4 separate regions of the Homo sapiens genome follow, and regions 2, 3 and 4 are each linked to region 1. The links are contacts of gene promoters, found by promoter capture Hi-C in blood cells and fetal thymus (Javierre and others, 2016). All regions are on one chromosome and are shown on one strand. The core of a region is centred on a gene start or on the middle of the fragment in contact, and the rest is flanking DNA. Distances in the headings are between cores, read along the strand shown. Region 1 holds the start of PRELID3B (PRELI domain containing 3B). Region 2 has its middle 9.8 kb from the start of ANKRD60. Region 3 holds the start of VAPB (VAMP associated protein B and C). Region 4 overlaps VAPB (VAMP associated protein B and C).

What was found. Contacts are between HindIII fragments. The CHiCAGO score rates a contact against its expected background, and 5 or more counts as called.
Region 2: a contact is called between a fragment that was not itself captured here and the fragment with the promoter of PRELID3B in region 1, in 1 of 17 cell types (naive B cells). The highest score is 6.2, in naive B cells.
Region 3: a contact is called between the fragment with the promoter of VAPB here and the fragment with the promoter of PRELID3B in region 1, in 2 of 17 cell types (non-activated CD4 T cells and total CD4 T cells). The highest score is 6.1, in non-activated CD4 T cells.
Region 4: a contact is called between a fragment that was not itself captured here and the fragment with the promoter of PRELID3B in region 1, in 2 of 17 cell types (naive CD4 T cells and naive CD8 T cells). The highest score is 5.7, in naive CD4 T cells.

Annotation. Positions count from the first base shown.
Region 1 is chr20:59,040,600-59,044,406 of GRCh38, forward strand. It overlaps PRELID3B (PRELI domain containing 3B), which reads right to left and starts at 2,187. Exons shown (of 6, transcript NM_016045.3): 1 at 2,100-2,187. The coding sequence starts at 2,131. It overlaps SLMO2-ATP5E (SLMO2-ATP5E readthrough), which reads right to left and starts at 2,247. Exons shown (of 6, transcript NR_037930.1): 1 at 2,100-2,247. RefSeq lists a silencer at 2,105-2,504. The HindIII fragment of the contact is 2,130 bases long and covers 726-2,855 here.
Region 2 is chr20:58,236,527-58,240,333 of GRCh38, forward strand. It overlaps the pseudogene PPP4R1L. Among named protein-coding and RNA genes, the nearest start is that of ANKRD60, 9.8 kb to the left of the region's middle. RefSeq lists a silencer at 599-648. The HindIII fragment of the contact is 2,618 bases long and covers 374-2,991 here.
Region 3 is chr20:58,387,180-58,390,986 of GRCh38, forward strand. VAPB (VAMP associated protein B and C) reads left to right here and starts at 2,050. Exons shown (of 6, transcript NM_004738.5): 1 at 2,050-2,338. The coding sequence starts at 2,281. RefSeq lists silencers at 1,759-2,198, 2,459-2,578. The HindIII fragment of the contact is 12,509 bases long and covers 1-3,807 here.
Region 4 is chr20:58,406,175-58,409,981 of GRCh38, forward strand. All of the region lies in intron 1 of VAPB (VAMP associated protein B and C), which reads left to right. Among named protein-coding and RNA genes, the nearest start is that of VAPB, 19 kb to the left of the region's middle. The HindIII fragment of the contact is 1,190 bases long and covers 1,074-2,263 here.

The DNA of each region.
Region 1 (3,807 bases), core at 937-3,436:
GATAAGATGTAGAATGATGACTTAGACATTGTTAGAGAGTGACATCCTAAAGATCAGAAACAACGCTCAGATTTGTCAGGGGAGATGATGACTTCAATTTCAGACAGGCTGAGTTTTAAGGGCCTGTGGGACACGAGGGTAGCAATGCCTAACAGGCACCTGAAAATGAAAAGCGGAGCTCAAGAGAGGCTGGAGCTCAAGGTACAGATCTGGGTGCCATAAATGTATACCTATCATTTGGGACTTTGACCAAACAGCTCAGATTATGTGGGGAGAAAGCACGGATCAGGGCTGCTTCTCCCAGGACAAAAAAAAAGTCTGTGACGAAAAGAGAAACAAAAAAGAAATTAAGATCACAGGTAAAATCCAATATAGGAAGGCCAACACAGAATCTCACTGAACATTTACACTGAATGGGAAAAGACAGGGAAGCGCTGAAGACAAAGGCAGAAAGAGTGTAGAGGGAAGGAGGGGATGAGCCAGGAAGAAGAGTTAGGGAAGATATGGGAGAAGACAGTTCTAGGGAGACTGAGTGCCGAGAACCTCTGAAGCATGCAAACCCAGAAGAGGACTGAAGCATGCAAACCTGGAAGAGGACTGAAATTAAACATCCTCGGAGCTGAAATGGACTAGTGATGAATGCGACCAGGTTAATGAACATCTAAATGACCACAAATTTCGGGTCTTTTTCCTCCCAAAAAGACTAAACAGTAGGGGGAAAAGAAAGCTTCCTTCTGATTCCAGTATTCTATACTTTGCAGGATACAGCAGGCCCTAGGATGTGTCCCACTGAGTACAAATGCGGACAACGTTTTAAAAGTTGCCTTCAGAGGCCGGGCACAGTGGCCCACACCTGTAATCCCGGCACTTTGGGAGGCCAAGGCGGGCGAATCACCTGAGGTCAGGTGCGACCTGACCAGGGCGAATCACTTTGAGACCAACCTGACCAACATGGTGAAACTCCGTCTCTACTAAAAATACAAAAATTAGCCGGGCGCGGTGGTGGGCGCCTGTAATCCCAGCTACTTGGGAGGCCAAGGCAGGAGAATCGTTTGAACACGGGAGACGGAGGTTGCAGTGAGCCAAGAACACGCCACTACTCTCCAGCCTGGGCAACAGAGCGAGACTCTGCCTCAAAAAAGAAATTTAAAAAAAATTTGCCTTCAGAGACAGTTTTAAAAACATAAATGGCTTTGTAGCATATTTATTTACAAGGCTATACTAATTAAAACAGTGTGGCAACGACATTAAGATCAGCGGAACAGAGCAGGTAACTCGGGAAAAAAAAGGATTTCGCTGCTTAAATTTGTGGCTCTTTTGTAAATGGAATCAGGGACCTAGAAGAGAATATAATTCTCCACATCCAACTGGTTCAAGGCTTAGTTTCGTTAGTAAACAGTTCACATTATCCAAAAAGATGTTCCTGAACGTGGCCTCAAAGAGCTAACACGGGTAGGCCCTGACGATCGTCCTTTTCCATCTCTCAGATGAAAATGGGTAACCCAGGGTCACACGCTTGTTACAGCCAGAGCTAGACCTTGAATTCCAAATCCAAGGCTCTGCTGCGTAGATGAACGAGTTGTGAAAAGGCTTCACATCCTGGTGGTCAGAGTTCACCCGAAATTCACATTCGAAGGTAGAAACTCCACCCAAACGGCGGCCAGGGAAAGTACACTCTGGAGAAAACCAACACCTCCCTCTTGGGATCCTCGGGTCCACGTCCCAAAGTGGTTTCACAGGGCGGGATGGGGCAACCCTGAGTGCTGTCAAGGGCTTCGTGCTCCGCGACGCCCCCAGGACCTCAGGAGGCCGCCGGCCCGAGGCTACCTCATGGTGGGGGACAGCCCGGAAGTGACCCCGTAGCCCTGCCGGTCGCAAGGCCGCCTGGGTCTGGAGGTCGGAGCCGTCCCCTCGGCTAGGGCGCCTCGGGGTCGTGACCTTGGTCTGCCCTCCGTGTCGCCGGGGCCCGCAGGCTTCAGAGTTCGCTCCCCTCGCTAGGCCCGACGCCTAGAAGCCTCCTGCGGGCCGCCTCTGCCTCGCCTCTACTCCAGGGCCGGCGTGCCTGCCCTCCACGGAGCCGACCCGCGCCCCAAACTTACTCAAAGACGTGCTCCGAAGTCCAGATCTTCATGGTGCCGGCACCCTGAGAGATGTCCGGGTAGCGCCAGGGGACAACGAGGCACAGAGGCTACACCTGCCCCTGCCCCGCCCCCAGCACCCCAGCCGGCGGCGCAGTGCGCAGGCGCTGTCGGGCCCGACGCGAGGGACGTCCAGACGCGCGGCCCCACGCCCTATCCCGGCCCGGGTTTTGCCCCAGCCTTGCGCGCGGCGCAAGGAAACCCCGCCTCTTAGCGCCGGGCGCATCGCGCCGGCGCAGTGCCGCCGACGGCAGCTGGAGGGGCCGGCGCGGGCGCTGTGCTGCGCAGGCGCGGCGGGCTTGTAGCGAGCCTTGACCTCTGGGCAGAGTTGGGTCAGGTCCAGGAGGTGCCTGCGCGCCCGCTTGGCCCTCCTTGTCCTTCTGGCCCAGCACATCCTCGCCTGGCATTTCGAGGCGTGTGGACGCATGCGGTCAGCCTGCTGACATAGATGTTCGTTGTGGTGGTCACTTGTGCAAAATTTCCTGGTGCCCTATAGAGAGTTCCAGCCACCTCCTGGGTCAGCCCGGGCTGTTTTCCCAAATCCACCAGCCACCCAGCCGATCAGCTGGGCCAGTCCCACCTGCCCGCCAGGAGCTTGCAGCCCTCGGAGGGGATAAATAAGGCGTGACGCGGAGAAGCTAACATCAGACCTGCCCATGAATAATACCCCTACGAGGGATGCGGTCCGGAAGCACGGTGCCAGGGGTCGGGTAGAAAAGCTTCCTGGCCGGGCACACCTTGCCCTAGGTGCATAGGATGGATCTGAGCTGAGATGTCTCTCCCAGAGAGACTTCCCTCGTCACCGTTTCTCACCTTGTTGCTCTGCTCCGTCACAATATCCTGTTGCATTTTTTATAGCACTTACCCCTCTGACATCATCTTGTTAATTTATTTGTGAAAATTCACAATCGAACTGAGTTCTTGAAGGCAAGAATCTTGCCGGTCTTGCTCAAAAATCATCCTCAGTGTCTCCCATATAGTCAAGGCTCAATGACTACTTATTGAAAAATGAAAAAAATCAATAGCTATTTGTGGGATGAATGAATTAATGGAGTCATCTAGTTTATTTGTTGTAACTTCCGCTAGACTGTAAGCCCCTGAGGGCGAGGCTCTTGCCAGACTTGTTCAGTGATTTCCCCCTTCCTAAATGACAATTATTTGTTGCATCAATGGATGAAAGAATGACTAAGAATTGCTGGGGCAGGAGGAGGTGGCATGTGGTTTCATTCAGAGATGAGCCTTGTCCAGGGAACAGACTGCCTGGCTTAGCTTTCAGAATATGGCTTCCCACCCTGCTCTCCTGCACTCTCCACAGCCGTCTACCTCCTAACAGAACAATTTGCCATTTTCAATGAAGGTTATGGAGGAAAATCTTTACATCTAGTTACTTAGAAGCTTGTTAGAAGGACCACCTCATTCTTGTTCTTAGCTTGTTTGATTGTTAAAGACAAAAAGCCAGGTTAATTTAGGAGGGAGGATAATTTTTCAAAATAACATAAGTCCTTTATACAGGAAAACAAAAATTACATTAGACAGGAAGGAAATAATATGGTTGGGTAGTTGCTAAGTGCAATTTGTGGTACCTGAGATTTTCTTTTTTTAAACCTACAGTACTTAAGAGTGATTTCTTGGGGAGGTAATGCTTTAAGGGCTACTGAGAGTACCTCAG
Region 2 (3,807 bases), core at 433-2,932, 800 kb before region 1:
ATACAAATCAAACAAAAAGGAAATAAACTCTGTAAAATAGAGGCTGAGAAATTTATGAATACAGATTTAATATTTCAATTTTAGGTTATCAGTTGAAAAGCACATAAAACTTTAAAAATCAGATAACATAAAAATAGCCAGAATGTTGAAGTTCACAAAGGTCAACAGATCAAGCGAACACTCTGAGATTGCACGACCGCCCCGGCGTTTCTCCGACTGCAAACCGAACCGGATGCTCCTGCTCGCGGCTCTTGGCAGCACGAGGTGGTTTCACTGCAGCGAGGTCCGCTTGGAGAGAACTGGGAGCGCGTGCTCCTTACTCCGAAAGACAAAAGCATGCAGGAGACGGCTGGCTGCGAAAACCCACTACCAAAGCTTTCACTACTTTCTAAATGGGGATGGGGAGAAGGGCATGAAAATAAATGACATTGCTTTCACCCAGGCAACGAAAGGAAATGAAAAAGAGATGGGGAGGAAGTTAGAACCAGAAGCCCGGAGTGCTGGTGAATACTTTCATATCAAAAAGCACCGTTTTCAAAAACATGATACCAATATCATGGGCACCGGAGCACAGAATTCATATCAGTCGCTGTGGCTTCAATAAGCCGGGAGATGGGAGATAGGGCGCGTAGGGGGCTAGATAACGTGGTCGGGCACTGGGGCCGCGCAACCACCCGGGGAAGCCCCGCCGGGCACCGAGCGCGCCTACTTCCCGTGCGCCGCCGCTAGAGGTCGCACTGCTTTCATGGAAAACGTGGGCCTGTTTTTCTCGACTCAGAACAGGATGCTGGGAACATGGTAAAATGACTGAAACCTCAATCTCTCAAATTAAGCAGAATGATTAAAGACCACAGCAAAGAGAAAGGCTTTCGGTTTGCCCCTGGCATCAGCCAAATCATATCCTGAATAGCTGCAAAAGCCTGATGAATTTATTCAGGGAAGACAATTATTTGAGAGATTTCTAGTTGTGGATGAGAAAAATGAAAACTAAAGACACCGAAATGAAAACAAGGTAAAAACTAAAACCCAAACAACAACTGCCACAAACAAATTCCCTCCACACCGTGAAAGGCACATTATATACCTTAGGAAGGGGAGTTATTTAAACTGATGCTTCCACCCTTTCATCATCACTAAAGCCTGGAACATTCCTTTTGCCAGCTCAAGACAGAATTAAATAACTCCTTCAGGCACAAAATGATGTGCAGATAGGAGCCACCTTGGGGAACCTTTTTGTTTCATAATCATCTCATCTGGGTTAGACCCCTTCCTGTCTCCCACAGTAGCTAAAGGGCATTAAGCATGCTGTACCCTACGGAGAGGACCACACTCAGAATGTTCAGGAAAGCTCTGGTAAAAACTGCTCCGATTAATAGGAAAACACTGAAGAGTGGGTGATTCATCTTTTATTTGGTTCAAATAAATTGCCTTCTAGAACAGCAGAACACTCTAATTCGAAAGTGACTCAAGCCCTGTCTTCATCTGAAAATGAATGTCTCCCCGGAGACTGTGGTATTTGTAACTCAGGGTTTTTGGAATTCTGTTTATACCTTAATAAAAACATAATCTCTTTATCTAAAAGAACACTATTGCTGCTGCTTTAGAAATCAATTATATGGTAAGAAAATTAAGATTTATTCCATCTAGTTTGCTTTCTCATATCCCCAAATATGTTTTTACTTACTCTGCTAGTTCATATCGAAACCTCCAATTCCTGCTGTTATCAGTCACTACAAATTCTTGAAGCTGATAAAGATAGTCTCTCCTCTTGTCTTCATGAAGCAACTATTTTTTAAAAATGTATATATAAACAAACATGTATAATCCTTCAAAATGACCCCAAATGCCCCCTTTTATTCCACTTCCAATTATACATTTGTCACTGGCAAGAACTTTTGCATTTCCCCTACACCTCGTCATCTATCACGCAGCGTGGCTGCGAATGAACACTGCTGTACACTGACATCAAATGCATCCCTGAACACCTCCAACCTTTTCCCCTGGCTAGGACATGTGCTTATTATGTATTTCTGAATGCCCCTGAGGTCTTCCTGCTTTAGTAATTTCCTATCTAAAAACAAAAAAACAGACAAACAAAAACCCAGTCTGTGTGTGTTTGGAAGACAGTGTGCCACTGCCGCTTCCCAGGGAGCGAGGCTGCTCGGCACCAGGAGAGGAGAGACTCAGCTGGAGCAGCGCACACCAGAGTCCGTGAAGGGCAGCTCTTGGTCATGTGGATGAGAGTAATTAGTTTCTCTAGGTCATTTTTAAACTCTTATTTTTTATATTCATCGTTCGTTTGGGGGGGAGGGGGGGAAGCCAGAAGGGAAGCAGCAGCGACTTGCAGAAAAAGTGCTTCATGCAGAACAGAGGTTGGACTTCAGCCCAGGCTCTTCCCCTGGGTGACTTCTGGGCAAGTCAGGTCACTACCTGGGGGCCTTGATTTCTTCTTTTGCAAAGAGTGTGCTAGGCTTTGTGTCTACCATCTTCCACAGAATTAAAACTCTAATGGACAGGAAAATGAGGAGAAAAAAGTTTAAAATATTTACCCATCACTGAAAGAACATCCACTTTAAGATTATGGATGGTACATTTCAGCTAAAGAAAGCTAAAAACTGCATTGTTTTTTTCACTGACACCATAGACATCCAGGGCTTCACAAATTTGATTCGGAGAGAGGAGGCTTGTTTTTTGCTTTTAACCCTTCTTCCTACCTTTAGAAAATCATACAGGTGTCTAAGAACTCCTATTCGCACTTCATCCAGATCCTTTAAAAATCCATTGAAGATAGGCACCAGGTCAGCTGCTGTTAACTGATCCCCAAGAATCACAGCCAGCTCGTGAATGGAGAAGGCTAGGGCTCGCCGTACCTTCCACTAGGGGTGCATAGCAGACACACGAATCACGACAAGCAAGTGCAATTCAACCTCTTCCGTATCTTACATGGCATTTTTGGAGCAAAATGAATACTGCCAGGTGTTGGCCACTTAAAGCTTTATTTCATCAGAGACCAGTAAACATGCCAATTTGCATCCACATAAAATTCAGGCCAATAAGCCTTGCTGCAGCTTCCCTTTTCTCCCTAATGAATGACCCACCCTCTTTCTGCACGTGCCTCTGGAAAGGCTTTTACCTGTACATCAGAAGCCAGTGTTTCATATGTATCTTTCAGGCAGTGCCAATTTTGCCTGCCCAGGGTCAGTGCCACCCCTGGGAGGCTGTAGGCACAGTGTTTGGCTATGTCAGTATCGACAGTCTGGGCTCGAGCTGGGTCAGTCATGGACACATACTGATCTAGCAGCGGCTGAGGTATTACATCCTGGGAAATGAGAGAGAAAGGAGGCCATCGTGAATGCAGGAAAATACTCATGAAAAACAAGGAGTTTGGAGTTTAGAGGTGAAAACAATAAAGCAGAAATGTGAGAGGAACATGAGGCCTTCCTAAAGCCAAAGGGCTTCAGATTGCCAACTCTGTTTTCTCCAGAGAGTGGGTTTTCAATTTTGCTTGAAGTGAAAGCAACACCCAAAACTCATCTTCTTAAGATTGGCACAATATTTGATATCATAGAGGACAGTCTAGACAGCAATGTCTGCTTAGGCTGGTACATCCAGCTCTTGAGAATGGAGACTGCCTTCTCTTTTCTTACAACTGCCCCAAGAACCTAGCACCTGAGACCTTATACTCTGATAATCACGTCTATGTTTGACTGTGCTTGACTGAGATAGAACTCAATCAAATCAGTGTTAGATGTCTTATTTTTTTCTCATATTAGTTTGCTTTATTGAAAACACTATTATAGATTGTTC
Region 3 (3,807 bases), core at 800-3,299, 650 kb before region 1:
GAGGAGCAATGAGGGGGAACAGGCAAACAGTGGATGGCAATCAAGTGTGCTGAGAGAGGACAGCTGTCATTCAAGCAAGCAAGCCAAAATATCTGTCAAGAACAAGGGCAAGGCCAGGCGCAGTGGCTCATGCCTGTAATCCTAGCACTTTGGCGGCTGAAGCAGGAGGATCACTTGAGCCCAGGAGTTTGAAACCAGCCTGGGCAACATAGTGAGATTTTACAGAAAATAAAAAAATTAGCTGGGCGTGGTGGTGCATGCTTTTAGTCCCAGCTACACCGGAGTCTGAGGTGGGAGGATTGTTTCAGCCTGGGAGATACAGGTTGCAGTGAGCCACGATCATGCCACTGCACTCCAGCATGGGCAACAGAGCAAGACCTCATCTCCAAATAAATAAATAAATAAAATAAAAACAACAAAAGGCAAAAATGAATCCATTTGCAGATGAGCAGAAACTGAGAGGATTTGCACCAACGAAGCTACAAAAAAATAAAATTTAAAGGATTTACCTCAGGCAAAAGGAGAGTGATCCTGTTGGTGAAAGCTGAGATGCAAGAAGAAAAGGTGGATAAAAATGGTAATTGTGTGGCTGAATCTAAACTAATGTTGACTGAATAAAACAATTTAGTAATGTCTCTTGGGGTTACAGTGGCAAAGGTTAAACTTAACATACACTACATTAAGGTGTATAATTTAGAGGATGGGTGATTAAAGTACTCCAAAGTCTTTATATTTTAAGGAAACAGGGTAAAGACATTTTTACAAATATTTAAAGATATTGGACTTTCACAAGGTAAGTATGCATGCCCAAAAGTTTGAAGTAACCACTAAAACTTAGAAATAGAGTATACAGGTGAAGAAAATCAGAATGAGAATAAAAATAAACCCTAAAGAAGAAAGGAAAGGGGAAAAAAACCAGGCAGGACAAATAGAAATAACAAAATACAATGGTAGAAATAATTCCAGATATATCAGTAAATATAATAAATGTAAATGGACTAAATGCTCCAGTTAAAATACAAAGACTATTCTTTTAAAAAACCTTTTTATCATGAAAAATTTCAAGTATACAGCAAAGTGGGAGAAACAGTACAAGAAAACCATATACCTGCGATGTAGAGTCAGCCATTGCTAGCAATTTGCCACATTTGTCTCACCTATATGGGTATGTATAGGAGACTATTAAGAACACCTATTTAACTTCCATAGTAAACATAATATAATGAAATACAATTTAAACGGTAATCATGATGTAGAGTATCCACTTTTGAGGTCAAGCAGATCTGGATTCTCCAGCAATTTTTAATTATTTAACTTACGTGTGTGGTTATTTATTCAAAAGATGTCTCTTCACTAGGCTATAGTAAAAGGATTGGAATCAGGTTCGCTTTTCTGATCATTGTATTTCTAAATATTTGTTGCATAAACAAATAGAATTTACTAGTAAAGAATTCAGCACAGTGCCAGTTGCATAGTAAACATTTAACGTAGAGTAGCTTGTATTTATTGTAGTTGCTGTTGTTATTGGAAGCATTCAGTAGAGTGATACAAAATAAATAAGCAATAATTGGTAGTTTATTATATTTATAATTATTATTTACAAGACGTCACAGTGCCTAGCCCATATCACTCACCCATAAACATTATACTTATACTAAGTACTTTCACTATTATTCAAAGTCTCTAACAGTGCCTGGCACTACATAAGCAAGAGAAAAGTGGAAGTTTATTCTAATTGTTATTATTGAATAAAGCACTTAACACGAAGCTGGCCCCCAGCGGGCCCTTAATAGTTTCCGCGGTGGCTGTCGTAGCTGGACTACAGACCCCGCCTCCTGAGCGGCCCGAAGCCCCGCCCCTTACTGCCCCGCAGTCCCGCCCCCGTGGCTTGTGCCGCGCCTGCGCACTGTCCCGGAAGGGGCTCTACGCGCGCAGCTTTAGTCCCCGCCCCTGGAGCCGGCGGCGCAGGGCGCAGCTTCCCGCCGCCAGAGCGGGCCAGCCTGCTGCGTGCGTGCGTGTGTACGACTCTGCGTGCGTGCGTGCGTGCGTGCGTGCCGTCAGCTCGCCGGGCACCGCGGCCTCGCCCTCGCCCTCCGCCCCTGCGCCTGCACCGCGTAGACCGACCCCCCCCCAGCGCGCCCACCCGGTAGAGGACCCCCGCCCGTGCCCCGACCGGTCCCCGCCTTTTTGTAAAACTTAAAGCGGGCGCAGCATTAACGCTTCCCGCCCCGGTGACCTCTCAGGGGTCTCCCCGCCAAAGGTGCTCCGCCGCTAAGGAACATGGCGAAGGTGGAGCAGGTCCTGAGCCTCGAGCCGCAGCACGAGCTCAAATTCCGAGGTAAGCCCCAGAGGCCGCCACCTTCCTGCCCGCGGCCTCCGCCCCAGTGCTGGAAGGACGGAGCCCGGCGCGGCGGGTGACGTCGGCCCTCGTCCCCACCCCGACGGCGCTGTCGCGGGGGGCGGCGAGGCCGGGCCGGGCCTTGGCGCTCGCCGCGCTCCCCAGAACTGCCCGGAGTGGCCGGGACCCGAGAGGGCTGGTGCGGGAGCCGGGGCCTGCGCCTCCTCCCCGACCCCCAGCCTCCTGGGACTTGCCTTCGAGGCACTTGTCACTTTGTAACTTACCAGTTTGTGATCCTCTCTAGTGTGAGCCTCCGCCGCTGCCTTTGCCTAGAAGTTTCTTCCCCTGCTCCGTGACAGTGTTGACCTCAGGGCTTAGTTGAGGTGTCAGCTGCTCAGAGAGGCCTGCTGTGACCACCCAGCCACCGTGCACACCTGCTGTCATTCCCTATTCCGTCACTGTTTCGTGGTCAGCACGGCACTTTTCATACCCAAAATCACTGTTTCAATACTAGAAGGGAAACTGCATGAGGACAGGCTCTTGTCAGTTCGCTGCTGTGTACCCAGCACACATTATACGCCTAGTAAATAAATACCTGTTGAACCAACAGATGAACATGTTGAACCAACAAATGAACCTCCTCAGGACTTCTGATGGGATTGGGCCCATTTTCCTTTCACTGCGTCCCTCATGCTGTCTCCTGGTTGCGGTGCAAGGAGGCTGCCACGGTGCTGGGATCCTTTTTCTCCGCAGAGCTGTCTGGAGCAACACCTGCGGCGATGGGAAGCCATGACCCTGGTTTCTCCCAGATACTATTACCTCTGTAATTTGTGCCTTTATGTTTTCTATGTTGTTACTTTTGTTTTTTTTTTTTTTTTCCTACCTTCACCAGGGCCACGAGGTAAAAGTTCTTGTCTGACATGCTCATTCTTTCTTTTTGCGTGTATCCAGTGATGTGGGAGGCTCTGGGGAGGTGATGGATGCACAAGACAGATAAGGCCTCTGCTCTCACAGAGCTTACCTTCCGACGAGGACAGACAAACCAACACACAAGATCATTGCAGATAGTGCTAAGTGCTGTGTAGGAAATGGAACAGTCTGACTCCATGGAAGCGTACTTTAGATTGGAAGGCCGGGTCTCCACTATATCGCTAGCACCGGACTCACAGTAGATGCTCAGTTGGTATTTATGAATGAATGAATGGCCAGAGGCTCTCCAGTTTATATGTCCTATTGGGAAGTAGTGTAGGGTAACTTACCCAAAGTTACCCAGTTGGCAAATGGTACATTTGAACCCAGACTTCAGAGTTCACGCTCTTAACCGTTTTGCTGTCTGATCGCTGGGAAATACTCCAGAACGGTGGCTGTCACTTTGCCTTCCAAGTTAACAATGTGAAATAACTCTGAATTTACAGAGAACCAAAGGCTTTCCAATTAAAATGAAAAAACCGAAAAACCCCACCAAACCT
Region 4 (3,807 bases), core at 419-2,918, 630 kb before region 1:
CTCAGGGGAGAGGGCCAGGCTGCAGATATAAATTTGGCAGTCAGCTTATTGTTGTGACATAGAACAGTAAGGAGTAATTTCTTCTGATTAAAGAGATTTGGTAAACCTTTCCAAAAGAGAAGACGTTTGAGCAAAACTTTGAAGAATGAGCATAATTTCCAAAGGCAGAGTAAGGGAAAAATAGAAAATATTTTTCATCCAAGTCTCACAGCCTTTCCCCTGGCCTCTTCTTGAGTTTAAGAAGCTGCTGACCTGGTTGATAATCTCTTATCACTGGTATAGCCACTTAGGTTCTTTATTGAAAAGGAACCAGAACAGATTACACACTAACTGATAAACCACGTTCTACTGTTTCTCATCGTTCACAGATTGAAAATTCCAGTTGGATCATCAAGGTGCAGAATGCTAAACTTGTTCTTCTCCCCTGTTCTGTATCTGGTGTGAATTGGATGTGTTGATTTTCGTATGGAGGCTTTTTCACATGCTGTCATCTCCACTAAAGATGGAACACTTTGGAGAAGTTTTACTTCTGTTGTTAATGACTTTTTGCACTTGAACTGTTAAAACAACTACAACCATGAGAAATTGGGACCCCATGCTATTTTATCACTCATACCCCTAACTTGAGCATATTATCTGTCTTGACTCATCCTGCTTTGTGTAAAATGTGAATCATGTTTTGTCACTCTTCTATTTAGATAGAATTTTATTTGCAGTAGAATATTGCTTATCTTTTTGTTTATTTTTGTGATTACTGTAATCAGAAATTTTGGTCTTTCAAGTAGAGAATAATTACTAGATGTTCGTTAGTCAATGGGATAAAGAATGCATTGAAAAAATTCAGTTTATTAAATCGTCTAAGATCCTTTTAGAACTGATGTAAAATTCATCTGTGAATAATCTTCTACTGCACGATAATATTAGTGCTGGATATAGATAGAATGTATGAAGCCTCAGCTCTTATATACTCCTTTTAGCCATTTTTCTATTACGAAAAAAAATCTAGTGTATTAAAGGAAAGTAGTGACAGTATTTATCTTTAGATGGTTTCTAGTATTTGAAGTTCATACAGAAGCTTTTGTCAGAATTGTACACATGGGTCTTTGTCTTGAGTTAATGAGACCACTGCAACTTTAAACATGTTTTGAGTGATAACCTTGATTTTTATAAATTATACAAGCATGACTATCAAGGCTGGTTTATCAGTTTTCAACAACTTTACAAGTCTGAACAAGTAGAAAATTATTTCAAAAGAACCTTGTTTGGATCTCACATAAACTACAGGTAGCTTTCTGTATATGAAAAAATTTTTAAGTACAGAAAAATACAGATAATATAAATACCCCAGTATGGAGTAACTAAATGTTAATAATTTGTTAGAAGACTCGTTTTAAATCTTTCTTTAATAAAACAAGTAAAACTTCACTAATAATTTATGGCATGTCTGTACTCCATATCTGCTGATTCATACGCCCTCCTTTTTTTTTTGTTTTTTTTTTAACTCCCCGGAGGAATTTAATGTGAACTATTTCCGTTTTTTTCTAGATCACTTAATGTAGTGTCATGGTGTATGGATGACTTAACATGTTTTTGAGACCTATCAACTGTTGAAATACAGATCTAGTTCATTCTTTTAAAGAGTTGTATAGTATTCCTTCATGAGATTTTAGAATTTTTATTGTAAGTAAGAGAATTCTTTATATATTTTCAATTCTGGCCATTCATCTGTTATATAAACTGCAAATATCTTAGTTTTCCAGGCTGTTCCTTACTAACTTTGTATTTTTTTTCAGGTAGCTTTCCTGAGTTTGATCTTAGGAATTCTTAAAATACAGTAGCATGTCTTCCAGTTTAGTTTTCCCACCCATGGAGGTGGTGGCAGGCTGAGTTTTGTTTCTTTCTGCTCTGAAAGACCTAGGAAACTAGTGAATTGAGTAAGCACCCTGCAAGTCTGGTATAGTCTATTTCAATCAAGTTGGCTTCTGGTGTGCCTTTGATGGCATCATCAGTGAGAGTTCTTGGTGTTGATTTCTCTTGCTGCAATAACAGGTGTGATGTTTCTCAGTAGCTGGCTGGCTCCCGAGGATACCAGGAGAATACTTTATTAATTTAAAACACTGCATTCTAAGAGTTCTTCAGGAAAGTTATGTGTCTATGGGTAGGGTTGTTTTTATGTGGTTATTTCAAAATAAGAGCTATACAATCAGGCTTTCTGCTGGAATATTGGAATATAATGTCTGCCATTTAAACACATTGGTTGCAAAGCTTTAAAGCTTTATTTTTGTTTCTAAAGCATTGATTTAATGTGTGAGCTAACAATTCGATCAAGAAAATAGATTTTTAAGAAAACTTCTCCAGTGTCCTTATTCTTGAGTTCATGGTTATTTAACAGCTCACTCTCTTCGAATATCTGTTAGTATGGTATCTTTCATTTTTTAGGGAGGGGGCAACTTTAAAAAAAAACACCATAGAATAATTATGATGAAAGCATTATTGACACAGTGAGCATTTTTAATACCTTCAACCTGTATATAAGCAGCACAAATTTAGAGTGATTTCAGATCCGGGTTTTGAAGTAGGTGTCTGTTTACAGGAAATGCAGCAGAATCAGAGTACAATGACCTCTGAGGAAGTCTCGTATTCATGCAGCATACATTTTTACTATGTTTGTGGCACTGTTCTAGTTTGGAGGATCTGGTGATGAATAGGACAGACACCCCCCCCCCCCACCCCGCCCCCCACTCCATGTGGAAACAGGAAAGGAACAAACAAAATATGTCCTATGCAGAAGATGAAAAGGGTGTAATGCTGGAACAGGAGCAGCAGTAGTCTCAGTATTTATTCACCCAGAGCCTGGATGTGCTTACAGAGGGTGCATAGAGGAAGAATACAGCCATTGTGTGAAGTAGATGGAAGCATGGCATGGCTATTTGTTCATTCAGCAAATATATTATTGAGCATCTGTTCTATGCCTGCAAGTGCTCTAGGTGCTGATGATCAGTAATGAACAAGAGGGACAAAAAAGTCTGTGTTGATGGAGTTTCCATTCTAGAAGGGGAAGATTTACATAAACAAGAAAAGAAATAATGTGGGGATTGGTGCACTGCAGATGGGTATAGAACGCAGAAAGCAATAGGATACTTTTTAATGTAAATAGACTGTCAAAGGGTAAAATTTAAAAATATTAATAAGATATCCAACAGATTTTGCTTTAGAATGTCCGTGTCCCTCCATTTTAGTGTATTTTTCCCACATAGAGAGTCTACTGTATTGAAACCTCAAGCACACTTTTATTGTCTTAACAAAATCCATCAAAAGTCATAGGCTTCTGGAGACAGATTATTACCTTCCCAGAAGGTAATCTTTTTAGAGTTGAAGTGAAATATGGTAATTTGTTTTTTGGAGAGGCTGTGAAAAGGAGAGATACTGTACCTAATTTGTGTTTGCAAGAGTATAAAATAATATAGCTTTTTTTATGCAGAGTGGAAAAAACTGTTGTGAAGCTAATAACTTTAAACTTGTATCTGGAAAGCTGAGACCTGATAGATTATATATCAAATTGGTATACAACTTATTTGGTAACATATATAGGTTGAGTTTCAAAGTATTGTAGCTACATCAGAAGATAAATAACAAAGGAAGGATATGTATTTGTGAAACCAGAATTTCATGAACTCTAGAAAAGGAAGAGGAGCAATCACTTTGCACAACAAAGAATCTTTATTCATATACACACACACACACACACACACACACACACAATACAGATAGATATTTTCAAAATCTCAATAATATTTAATATTAGAA